2 separate regions of the Homo sapiens genome follow, and region 1 is linked to region 2. The links are contacts of gene promoters, found by promoter capture Hi-C in human tissues and cell types (Jung and others, 2019). All regions are on one chromosome and are shown on one strand. The core of a region is centred on a gene start or on the middle of the fragment in contact, and the rest is flanking DNA. Distances in the headings are between cores, read along the strand shown.

Region 1 (5,004 bases), core at 1,826-4,325, 190 kb after region 2:
TACCTGAAAGTGACGGGAAGAATGGAATCAAGTTGGAAAACACTCTTCAGGATATTATCCTGGAAAACTTCCTCAACCTAGCAAGGCAGGCCAACATTCAAATTCAGGAAATACAGAGAACACCACAAAGATACTCCTCAAGAAGAGTAACCCCAAGACACATAATTGTCAGATTCACCAAGGTTGAAATGAAAGAAAAAATGTTAAGGGCAGCCAGAGAGAAAGGTCGGGTTACCCACAAAGGGAAGCCCATCAGACTAACAGCGGATCTGTTGGCAGAAACCCTACAAGCCAGAAGAGAGTGGGGGCCAATATTCAACATTCTTAAAGAAAAGAATTTTCAACCCAGAATCTCATATCCAGCCAAACTAAGCTTCATAAGTGAAGGAGAAATAAAATCCTTTATAGACAAGCAAATGCTGAGAGATTTTGTCACTACCAGGCCTGCCTTATAAGAAGAGCTCCTGAAGGAAGCACTAAGCATGGAAAGGAATAACTGGTACTAGCCACTGCAAAAACATGCCAAATTGTAAAGACCATTGATGCTATGAAGAAACTGCATCAATTAACAGGCAAAATAATGAGCTAACATCAAAATGACAGGATCAAATTCACACATAACAATATTAATCTTAAGTGAAAATGGGCTAAATGCCCCAGTTAAAAGTCACGGACTGGCAAATTGGATAAAGAGTCAAGACCCATGGGTGTGCTGTATTCAGGAGACCCATTTCATGTGCAAAGACGCACATAGGCTCAAAATAAAGGGATGGAGGAAGATCTACCAAACAAATGGAAAGCAAAAAAAAGCAGGGGTTACAATCCTAGTCTCTGATAAAACAGACTTTAAACCAACAAAGATCAAAAGAGACAAAGAAGGCCACCACATAATGGTAAGGGGATCAATTCACCAAGAAGAGCTAACTATCCTAAATATATATGCACCCAATACAGGAGCAACCAGATTCATAAAGCAAGTCCTTAGAGATCTACAAAGAGACTTAGACTCCCACACAATAATAATGGGAGACTTTAAAACCCCACTGTCAGTATTAGACAGATCAATGAGACAGAAGGTTAACAAGGATATCGAGGGCTTGAACTCAGCTCTGCACCAAGTAGACCTAATAGACATCTACAGAACTCTCCACCCCAAATCAACAGAATATACATTCTTCTCAGCACCACATTGCACTTATTCTAAAATTGACCACTTAGTTGGAAGTAAAGCACTCCTCAGCAAATGTAAAAGAACAGAAACCACAACAAACTCTCCCTGACTACAGTGCAATCAAATTAGAACTCAGGATTAATAAACCCACTCAAAACCACACAACTACATGGAAACTGAACAACATGCTCCTGAATGACTACTGGGTAAGTAACGAAATGAAGGCAGAAATAAAGATGTTCTTTGAAACCAATGAGAAAAAAGATGCAACACACCAGAATCTCTGGGATACATTTAGAGCAGTGTGTAGAGGGAAATTTATAGCACTAAATGCATACAAGAGAAAGCAGGAAAGATCTAAAATCGACACTCTAACATCACAATTAAAAGAACTAGAGAAGCAAGAGCAAACAAATTCAACAGCTAGCAGAAGGCAAGAAATAACAAAGATCAGAGCAGAACTGAAGGAGAGAGAGACACAAAAAACCCTTCAAAAAATCAATGAATCCAGGAGCTGTTTTTTTAAAAAGATCAACAAAATAGATAGACTGCTAGCAAGACCAATAAAAAAGAAAAGAGAGAAGAATCAAATAGATGCAATAAAAAATGATAAAGGGGATATCACCACTGATCCCACAGAAATGCAAACTACCATCAGAGAATACTATAAACACCTCTATGCAAATAAACTAGAAAATCTAGAAGAAATGGATAAATTCCTGGACACATACACTCTCTCAAGACTAAACCAGGAAGAAATTGAATCTCTGGATTGACCAATAACAGGCTCTGAAATTGAGGCAATAATTAATAGCCTACCAACCAAAAAAAGTCCAGGACCAGACAGATTCACAGCTGAATTCTACCAGAGGTACAAAGAGGAGCTGGTACCATTCCTTCTGAAACTATTTCAATCAATAGAAAAAAGGGGAATCCTCCCTAACTCATTTTATGAGGCTAGAATCATCCTGATACCAAAGCCTGGTAGAGACACAACAAAAAAAGATAATTTTAGGCCATATCCCTGATGAACATTGATGCAAAAATCCTCAATAAAATACTGGCAAACCGAATCCAGCAGCACATCAAAAAGCTTATCCACCACGATCACATTGGCTACATCCCTGGGATGCAAGGCTGGTTCAACATACACAAATCTGTAAATGTAATCCATCACATAAACAGAACCAATGACAAAAACCACATGATCATCTCAATAGATGCAGAAAAGGCCTTCGATAAAATTCAACAGCGCTTCATGCTAAAAACTCTCAATAAAATAGGTATTGGTGGAACGTATCTCAAAATAATAAGAGCTATTTATGACAAACCCACAGCCAATATCATACTGAATGGACAAAAGCTGGAAGCATTCCCTTTGAAAACCGGCACAAGACAGGGATGCCCTCTCTCACCACTCCTATTCAACATAGTGTTGGAAGTTCTGGCTAGGGAAATCAGGTAAGAGAAAGAAATAAAGGGTATTCAATTAGGAAAGGAGGAAGTCAAATTGTCCCTGCTTGCAGATGACATGATTGTATATTTAGAAAACCCCATTGTCTCAGCCCAAAATCTCCTTAAGCTAATAAGCAACTTCAGCAAAGTTTCAGGATACAAAATCAATGTGCAAAAATCACAAGCATTCCTATACACCAATAATAGACAAACAGAGAGCCAAATCATTAGTGAACTCCCATTCACAATTACTACAAAAAGAATAAAATACCTGGGAATCCAACTTACAAGGGACGTGAAGGAACTCTTCAAGGAGAACTACAAACCACTGCTCAATGAAATAAAAGAGGACACAAACAAATGGAAGAACATTCCATGTTCATGGATAGGAAGAATCAATATTATGAAAACGTCCATACTTTCCAAGGTAATTTATAGATTCAGTGTCATCGCCATCAAGCTACCTGACTTTCTTTACGTAATTGGAAAAAACTACTTAAAAGAACAAAGCTGGAGGCATCCCGCTACCTGACTTCAAACTATACTACAAGCTAGAGTAACCAAAACAGCATGGTACTGGTACCAAAACAGATATATAGATCAATGGAACAGAACAGAGGCCTCAGAAATAACATCACACATCTACAACCATCTGAACTTTGGCAAACCTGAAAAAAACAAGCAATATTGAAAGGGTTCCCTATCTAATAAATGGTGCTGGGAAAACTGGCTAGCCATATGTAGAAAGCTGAAACTGGATCCCTTCTTTACACCGTATATAAAAATTAACTAGAAGCATTAAATACTTAAATGTAAGACCTAACACTGTAAAAATCCTAAAAGAAAACCTAGGCAATACCATTCAGGACATAGACATGGGCAAGGACTTCATGACTAAAATACCAAAAGCAATGGCAACAAAAGCCAAAATAGACAAATGGGATCTAATTAAACTAAAGAGCTTCTGCACAGCAAAAGAAACTACCATCAGAGTGAACAGGCAGCCTACAGAATGGGAGAAAATCTTTGCAGTCTACCCATCTGAAAAAGGGCTAATATTCAGAATCTACAAAGAACTTAAACAAATTTACAAGAAATAAACAAACAACCCCATCAAAAAGTGGGCAAAGGATATGAACAGACACTTCTCAAAAGAAGACATTTATGCAGCCAACAGACATATGAAAAAATGCTCATCACTTGTCATCAGAGAAATGCATATCAAAACCACAAAGAGATACTATCTCACACCAGTTAGAATGGCCATCATTAAAAAGTCAGGAAACAACAGATGCTGGAGAGGATGTGGAGAAATAGGAAGGGTTTTACACTGTTGGTGGGAGTGTAAACTGGTTCAACCATTGTGGAAGACAATGTGGCGGTTCCTCAAGGATCTAGAACTAGAAATACCATTTGACCCAGCCATCCCATTACTGGGTATATACCCAAAGGATTATAAATCATGCTACTATAAGGACACATGCACACGTATGTTTATTGGGGCACTATTCACAATAGCAAAGACTTGGAACCAACCCAAATATCCATCAATGATAGACTGGATTGAGAAAATGTGGCACATATACACCATGGAATACTATGCAGTCATAAAAAAGGATGAGTTCATGTCCTTTGTAGGGACATGGATAAAGCTGGAAACCATCATTCTAAGCAAACTATCACAAGGACAGAAAACCAAACATTGCATGTTCTCACTCATAGGTGGGAGTTGAACAATGAGAACACATGGACACAGGGTGGGGAACCTCACACACCGGGGCCTGTCAGTGGGTGGGGGCCTGGGGGAGATATAGCATTAGGAGAAATACCTAATGTAAATGATGAATTGATGGGTGCAGCAAACCCACATGGCACATGTATACCTATGTAACAAACCTGCACGTTTTGCACATGTACCCTAGAACTTAAAATATAATTAAAAAAACCCACAGTGATATGACAATCAAACTTGTTTTTAATGCCTTCCAGGGAAATCCTTTTGTTACTTATCAAATTATTTAAAGAAAGCATTTCTTATTATATTTACCTTGGAACGTTTGCCCAGAAAGGAGATTGGGCTGTTCTTGGCTTGATACGGTGCCCAGAGCTTTTTTATTTGTGTGCAGTTGATGGTTGATTCTCTGAGATACAGAAAACAGTTGATCGATCTCAATAGATAAGGGAATTTACCTTTTTTCATTTTGAGCATGAGTTACTCTATGTGCATTTTCTCATTTCATCCTCTGAACAATCTTCCTGTCACCATTTTATAAACACAGAAACAGAGATTCAAAAGGGTCAGGTCACTGGCTCCAGGTCAACTCTACTACTAAACAGAAAAGCAAGGACCAAAATTCAGATCTTTGTGACCCTCAATG
Region 2 (5,360 bases), core at 1,381-3,880:
CCAGTGTCAGGCATGTGCATTGTGTTTGCAAATTGTTGGACCGCCACCATAATGGAGTCACATTCTCCCTTAGGCAGAGTTTGCCCTAGTATGACTGAGAGGTCCCTCCTGGTGAGTTCAGATGTTAAGCCCAGTTTATAAAACACTTTGATATATTTGTCAGGGTCCTCCATAAACTTCCCTAGTTCCATTTTAATTTGGCTCAGGTCTTGCACAGTGAATGGAGTCTGGACTCCAGTGGGTCCACTGGGACCACTAAACCTCCTGAATGGGGCATAACTTAAGGAGGTGGTGTCCAGAGGATGGCCCTGGGTAGGGAGGAGAAGGCTTCTGGGAGACTTCGATATAATTGGGTAGAAGGGGCAATGGGGCTTGAGCTCTGGGTAAACCTGATGAGGGGCCTTCTGAACCAATGGGAAGGGGCTGCATGACTATGGCCATGGATCTGTTTTACAAGCCCAACAAAGGTCAGGGTTGTTTCTTAGGGCCATGAAGGCCAGCACATAGGGGATTTCTGTCCATTTTCCCTGGTGGTAGCAAAACAAATCTAGTTGATGGATCATATTTAAATTTGTGCTTCTATTTTCTGGCCAAGATTCCTGGTCCTAGAGCTTTTATTCAACCCAGGCTGTATTACAGAAAAATATTAGCCTTTTCCTTTTTAGGGTTTGGGAGTCAAACTTTTCCCAGTTCTTGAGGATGTATCCTAGTAGTGTGTCCTGTGGTACAGAGACTTGATTACCTGTCCACAGAGAGAACAGAGGAGAGAAGAGAAAAAGAAGGCAACCCCTCCAATTTCCCTACTGTCTTTTTCCTGAACTTACAGCAGACCAGAGTGGGTAGGGCATTACCCCATTCATCCATTTTTCCTTTGCGTATGGCAGTGTCCCCCATTCATTCTAGGGGTTCCAGAATGAACCAGTGCTTACCAGGTACCCCTAACCTTGGTCCCATCTTGTTTTATTGAGGCACAATTACCCGTTTGTAAAGAAAGAACAGAGGCGAGAAGAGGGCATCTCCCCTTGTTCTCTTAATCCTGTGCCTATGGCAGACTACAGTGAACAGGGTGCCCTCCCACTCATCCAAGGGGTTCTGGAATGAACCCAGTGTTTACTGGGTACCCCTACCCTGATCCCATCCCATTTCTGGACCAGCCTTCATCTGTGTTGCAGTGGTAATCTGTTTTGTGTTTGTAGCCTGGAACTAGTCTTCATCTCTGTTCTATGGGTACTTTGGTCTCTTGCATCTGCCTCCTTGGGCTGTCCTATATCCTTGTCTCCATGACCTTATAGTGACCCTTGTTCAGAGCATTCTAGCAACAGAATGATTATCTCTTCTCAGATTCTCATTTCCCATGTTCTTTAAGAAGACGAGAAGCCTGTTTTTCTGCCAATTGCTGCAAGGGGGCTGGACTTCTCTCCCTTCAAATATAACTTTGAAGGTCCTGATACATATTGAGAAGGGCCTGGAGGTGATTAGAGGAATGGAGGAAAATTTGTATTTGGGATTCTTCATCCTCCCAGGGTAACATGCAGAACAAATGCTTAACGAGGTAGAACAATCCCTCTGCTACAGGAGAAAGCGGGAGGAAGCAAGAGGAATACTCATGGAAAGCCTTCATATGTTTGCAGAAACAGCAGCCCTTGGATTTGAGAGGGCAACGTTTATTTGCCCTCTTGATATAAAGGAGGAACCTCTGGAGGACTTGGTGTTTGGGATAAGACCCTGCAAACGGCAGAGAATTTTCCTTCCCCACAAAGGGGTGCTAACTCAGAAAAAAAGCGAGTGGGTGGGGTCCTTAAGGGCTACAGAGTGAGGTCCTATGCAAGCAAGCAAACCATTCAAAAGCCAGGGAGAAACATGGCCCTGGAGCATAACAGGGATGAAAAGCATATGGTAAGTCATAAGGAGCTGACAGAGCTAAGGTTCTGATTAGTGTCTATCCCGGCAGTGAGCCAACAGACAGGGAAAGGGTTGGAGGTCATCCGAGCTGGTAGGGTAACAAGTATAAATATCAAGGGACATCCGTAAGGGAGTCCATCTCTTGGTTGCCAGGCTAACACAGCAAGAGCTGCGGGTGCATGAATAACAAATAGGGAATGTGTGTTTAAGGCAGAGAAGAAAGTTGCAGGGCATGCAAAGTAAGAACAGAGAAAAGACAGACTTACCCCCAAGGCAGTTGGTCCAATGGGTGTGCGAGGTCATTTTGGAATACATACAGAGAAAGGAAAATAGGTGGTGGTGGGTTTTTGGGAAAGAGCTGATTTTAGTTGAAAAAGCAGAGGAAACCCCAGATACTACATGGTTGTAGGTTTTAGCCCTACCGCTCTCATCAGCCTCCTGTCTGGGGGGGCCATTAGTGTCTCAGGTCTACTTAGTGCAGACTCCAAGGTCCTTCCCACCCCTGCAAGCCATCCTTCGGGGTGAGCAGAGAGAGCAGCCAGGGGGAGCAGAGCCACTGTGGTTGAGAGGAATCGTTCCAGGGGTAGGTTAGTAAGCAGGAGAGTGAAAGAGGAGAACGAAACCACGTACGAGGGTTGAACGCCTCCAGCCGAAGAAGGCAAGGCGTAGAGGTGTCTTACCACTAGGGAAGGTATCCGAGTCACTGCACCATTTGAGAGATCCAAGTGCCCTGTTCAGCCCTTGACTTGGGGTTTTATACATCGGCATGGTTCCGGGGTTTCCATTTCTCCTCCTTGGATTTTTTTCCTTGGGGTGGGCTGTCTGCTGTGCAGTGGCCTGTCAGCACTTGGGAGGAGCCACATGTGCATTTGTTTACTGAAGTTGTGCGCATGCTTTCTTGAGACATTTTTCCCTTATCAGTCAGGTGTTCCTAGAGGAAGGTCACATACTGGTTAAACTGTCATTTTGCTTCTTAGTGCGCATGCTTGAGCCCACTTGCCCAGCTTCGGAGATCTTATCAGGAAGTTGCTGATCACCAGCTTCCGGTGTTTCCTGTCTTTTGGGAGACTGTCTTTCCCTGGTACTGGCTGCAACCCATTATTATTATTTTAGAGAAACAGTGTAACAACCGCCTGATCATCACCTGATGGTCGCCTGACATTCCTGAGCTGGGGGCCCTCTCCTGCCCTGCTCATGTCTGCCTGACTACCTACTCTAACAGAACCAGCTTAACCTAATGGCCTCCTGATAGAACTGCTTGCTTTTTTTTTTTTGGAGACAGCCTCGCTCTGTCTCCCAGGCTGGAGTGCAGTGATGCAATCTTGGCTCACTGCAACCTCCACCTCCCGGGTTCAAGTGATTCTTGTGCCTCAGACTCCTGAATAGCTGGAATTAACAGGTGTGCACCACCATGCCCAGCTAATTTTTGTATTTTTAGTAGAGACAAGATTTCACCATGGTGGCCAGGCTGATCTTGAACTCCTGACCTCAAGTGATCTGCTGTCCTTGGCCTCCCAAAGTGCTGGGATTACAGGCATGAACCACCACACCTGGCCCAAACTGCTTTCCATAAACATAAATTTACCTTTCTAATGTAAATCAAATCACACAACATGCTTTTTGTGTTTGACTTCTTTCTGCTAGCATAATGCTTTTGAAATCTATTTGTGTTGTGTATATCAGTAATACATTCTTTTGTATTGCTGAAAGAGTATTCCATTGTATAGATATACCACAATTTGTTTATCCATTTACTCATTGATGGACATGAGAGTGGTTTCCAGCTTTTGGCTGTTAGTATTATTATTGTTTTATTTATTTATTTTTTTGAGATGGGGTCTTGCTCTGTCGCCCAAGCTGGAGTGCAGTGGTATGATCTTGGCTCACTGCAACCTTTGCCTCCTGGGTTCAAGCAATTCTCCTGCCTCAGCCTCCCAAGTAGCTGGGATTATAGGCACCTGCCACCATGCCTGGCTAATTTATTTTATTTTATTATATATTTTTTTGTATTTTTAGTAGAGACGGGGTTTCACCATGTTGGCCAGGCTGGTTTCGAACTCCTGACCTCAAGTAATCCACCCGCCTGGGCCTCCCAAAGTGTTGGGATTACAGGCGTGAGCCTGTAGTAGTAGTATTAGTAGTTAGTAGTATTATTAACATTCAGTTGCAAATCTTGGTGTAGACATATGTTTTCATTTCTCTTGAGTAACTTCATTTCTCTTGAGAAACTGCCAAACATTTGCATTGCCAGCAGTCATGAGTGAGAATTTGTTACTCCGCATCCATCACCAACATTTGATGGTATTGTCTGTTTTTAATTTAGCCATTCTAGAGGATGGGTATTATGCTTTTGATTTTTGTTTCATTAATGACTAATTATTTTCAGCATCTTTTATGTGTTATTTGCCATTCTTTCTACCTTCTGTGTAAATCATCTTTACAAGTTTTTTCTACTCATTTAAAAAATTGTGTTACTTTTATCAAGTTGTAAACAATTCTTTATTCTGGATACAAGTTTTTTTTGTTTGTTTTTATCAGATATGTTTTGCAAGTATTTTCTTCTATTCTGTAGCTTGCCTTTTTATTTTTATTTTTTTGAGATGGAGTCTTGCTTTGTTGCCCAGGCTGGAGTACAGTGGCACAATCTTGGCTCACTGCAGCCCCCGCCTCCTGGGTTCAAAAGGTTGCCCTGTTTCAGTCTCCCCAGTAGCTGGGAATTACAGGCATGTGCCACCATACCTAGCTAATTTTTGTATTTTTAGTAGAGGCAGGGTTTCACCATGTTGGCCAGGCTGGTTTCGAACTCCTGATCTCAGGTGGTCCACCCATCTCGGCCTCCCAAAGTGCTGGGATTACAGGCATGAGCCACCGCACCCGGCTGCCTTTTTATTTTTAAATGTCATTTGTTTTGTGTTGTTATTGTTTGATAAGTCCTTCTTATCAAGTTTTTAAGGTATGACATATAAAGTTATTCTTTTTGTTTTTTTTTTTTAATTTTTTTGAGACGGAATCTCACTCTGTCGCCCAGGCTGGAGTGCAATGGCGCGGTCTTGGCTCACTGCAACATCTGCCCCCAGGATTCAAGCGATTCTCCTGCCTCAGCCTCCTGAGTAGCTGGGATTACAGGTGCGCGCCACCACGCCTGGCTGATTTTTGTATTTTTAGTAGAGATGGGATTTCACCATGTTGGCCAGGCTTGTCTCAACCTCCTGATCTCAAGTGATCTACCTGCCTCGCCCTCCCAAAGTGTTGGGATTACAGGCAGTTGAAGGTAGTTTTACCTTTTCTTCCCAATGTGTACATTTGTCTTTTAGCTTTTGCCTCATTGCACTGGCTAGGGCCTTATAATGTTGCAAGAAAGGAGTGAGAGCAGACCTTCCTCCCTGATCTTTTGGAGTGAAATATTTAGCCTTTTACCATTAAATAAATTATTAGCTGTGGGATTTTAATAGATATTC

Evidence for each region. The method cuts DNA at HindIII sites, captures the fragments that hold promoters and counts their contacts. A contact is called where the count stands out against the background at its distance.
Region 1: a fragment that was not itself captured here is called in contact with the fragment with the promoter of ERVFRD-1 in region 2 in 1 of the 25 tissues and cell types used here (dorsolateral prefrontal cortex).

The regions. Positions count from the first base shown.
Region 1 is chr6:11,300,393-11,305,396 of GRCh38, forward strand. It overlaps LOC105374925 (a long non-coding RNA gene), which reads left to right. Exons shown (of 6, transcript XR_001743967.2): 2 at 4,906-5,004. It also overlaps a transcript of NEDD9 not described here. Among named protein-coding and RNA genes, the nearest start is that of NEDD9, 70 kb to the left of the region's middle. The HindIII fragment of the contact is 3,514 bases long and covers 1,319-4,832 here.
Region 2 is chr6:11,109,095-11,114,454 of GRCh38, forward strand. It overlaps ERVFRD-1 (endogenous retrovirus group FRD member 1, envelope), which reads right to left and starts at 2,631. Exons shown (of 2, transcript NM_207582.3): 1 at 2,583-2,631. The region is part of intron 1 of SMIM13 (small integral membrane protein 13); the gene reads left to right. The HindIII fragment of the contact is 12,472 bases long and covers 1-5,360 here.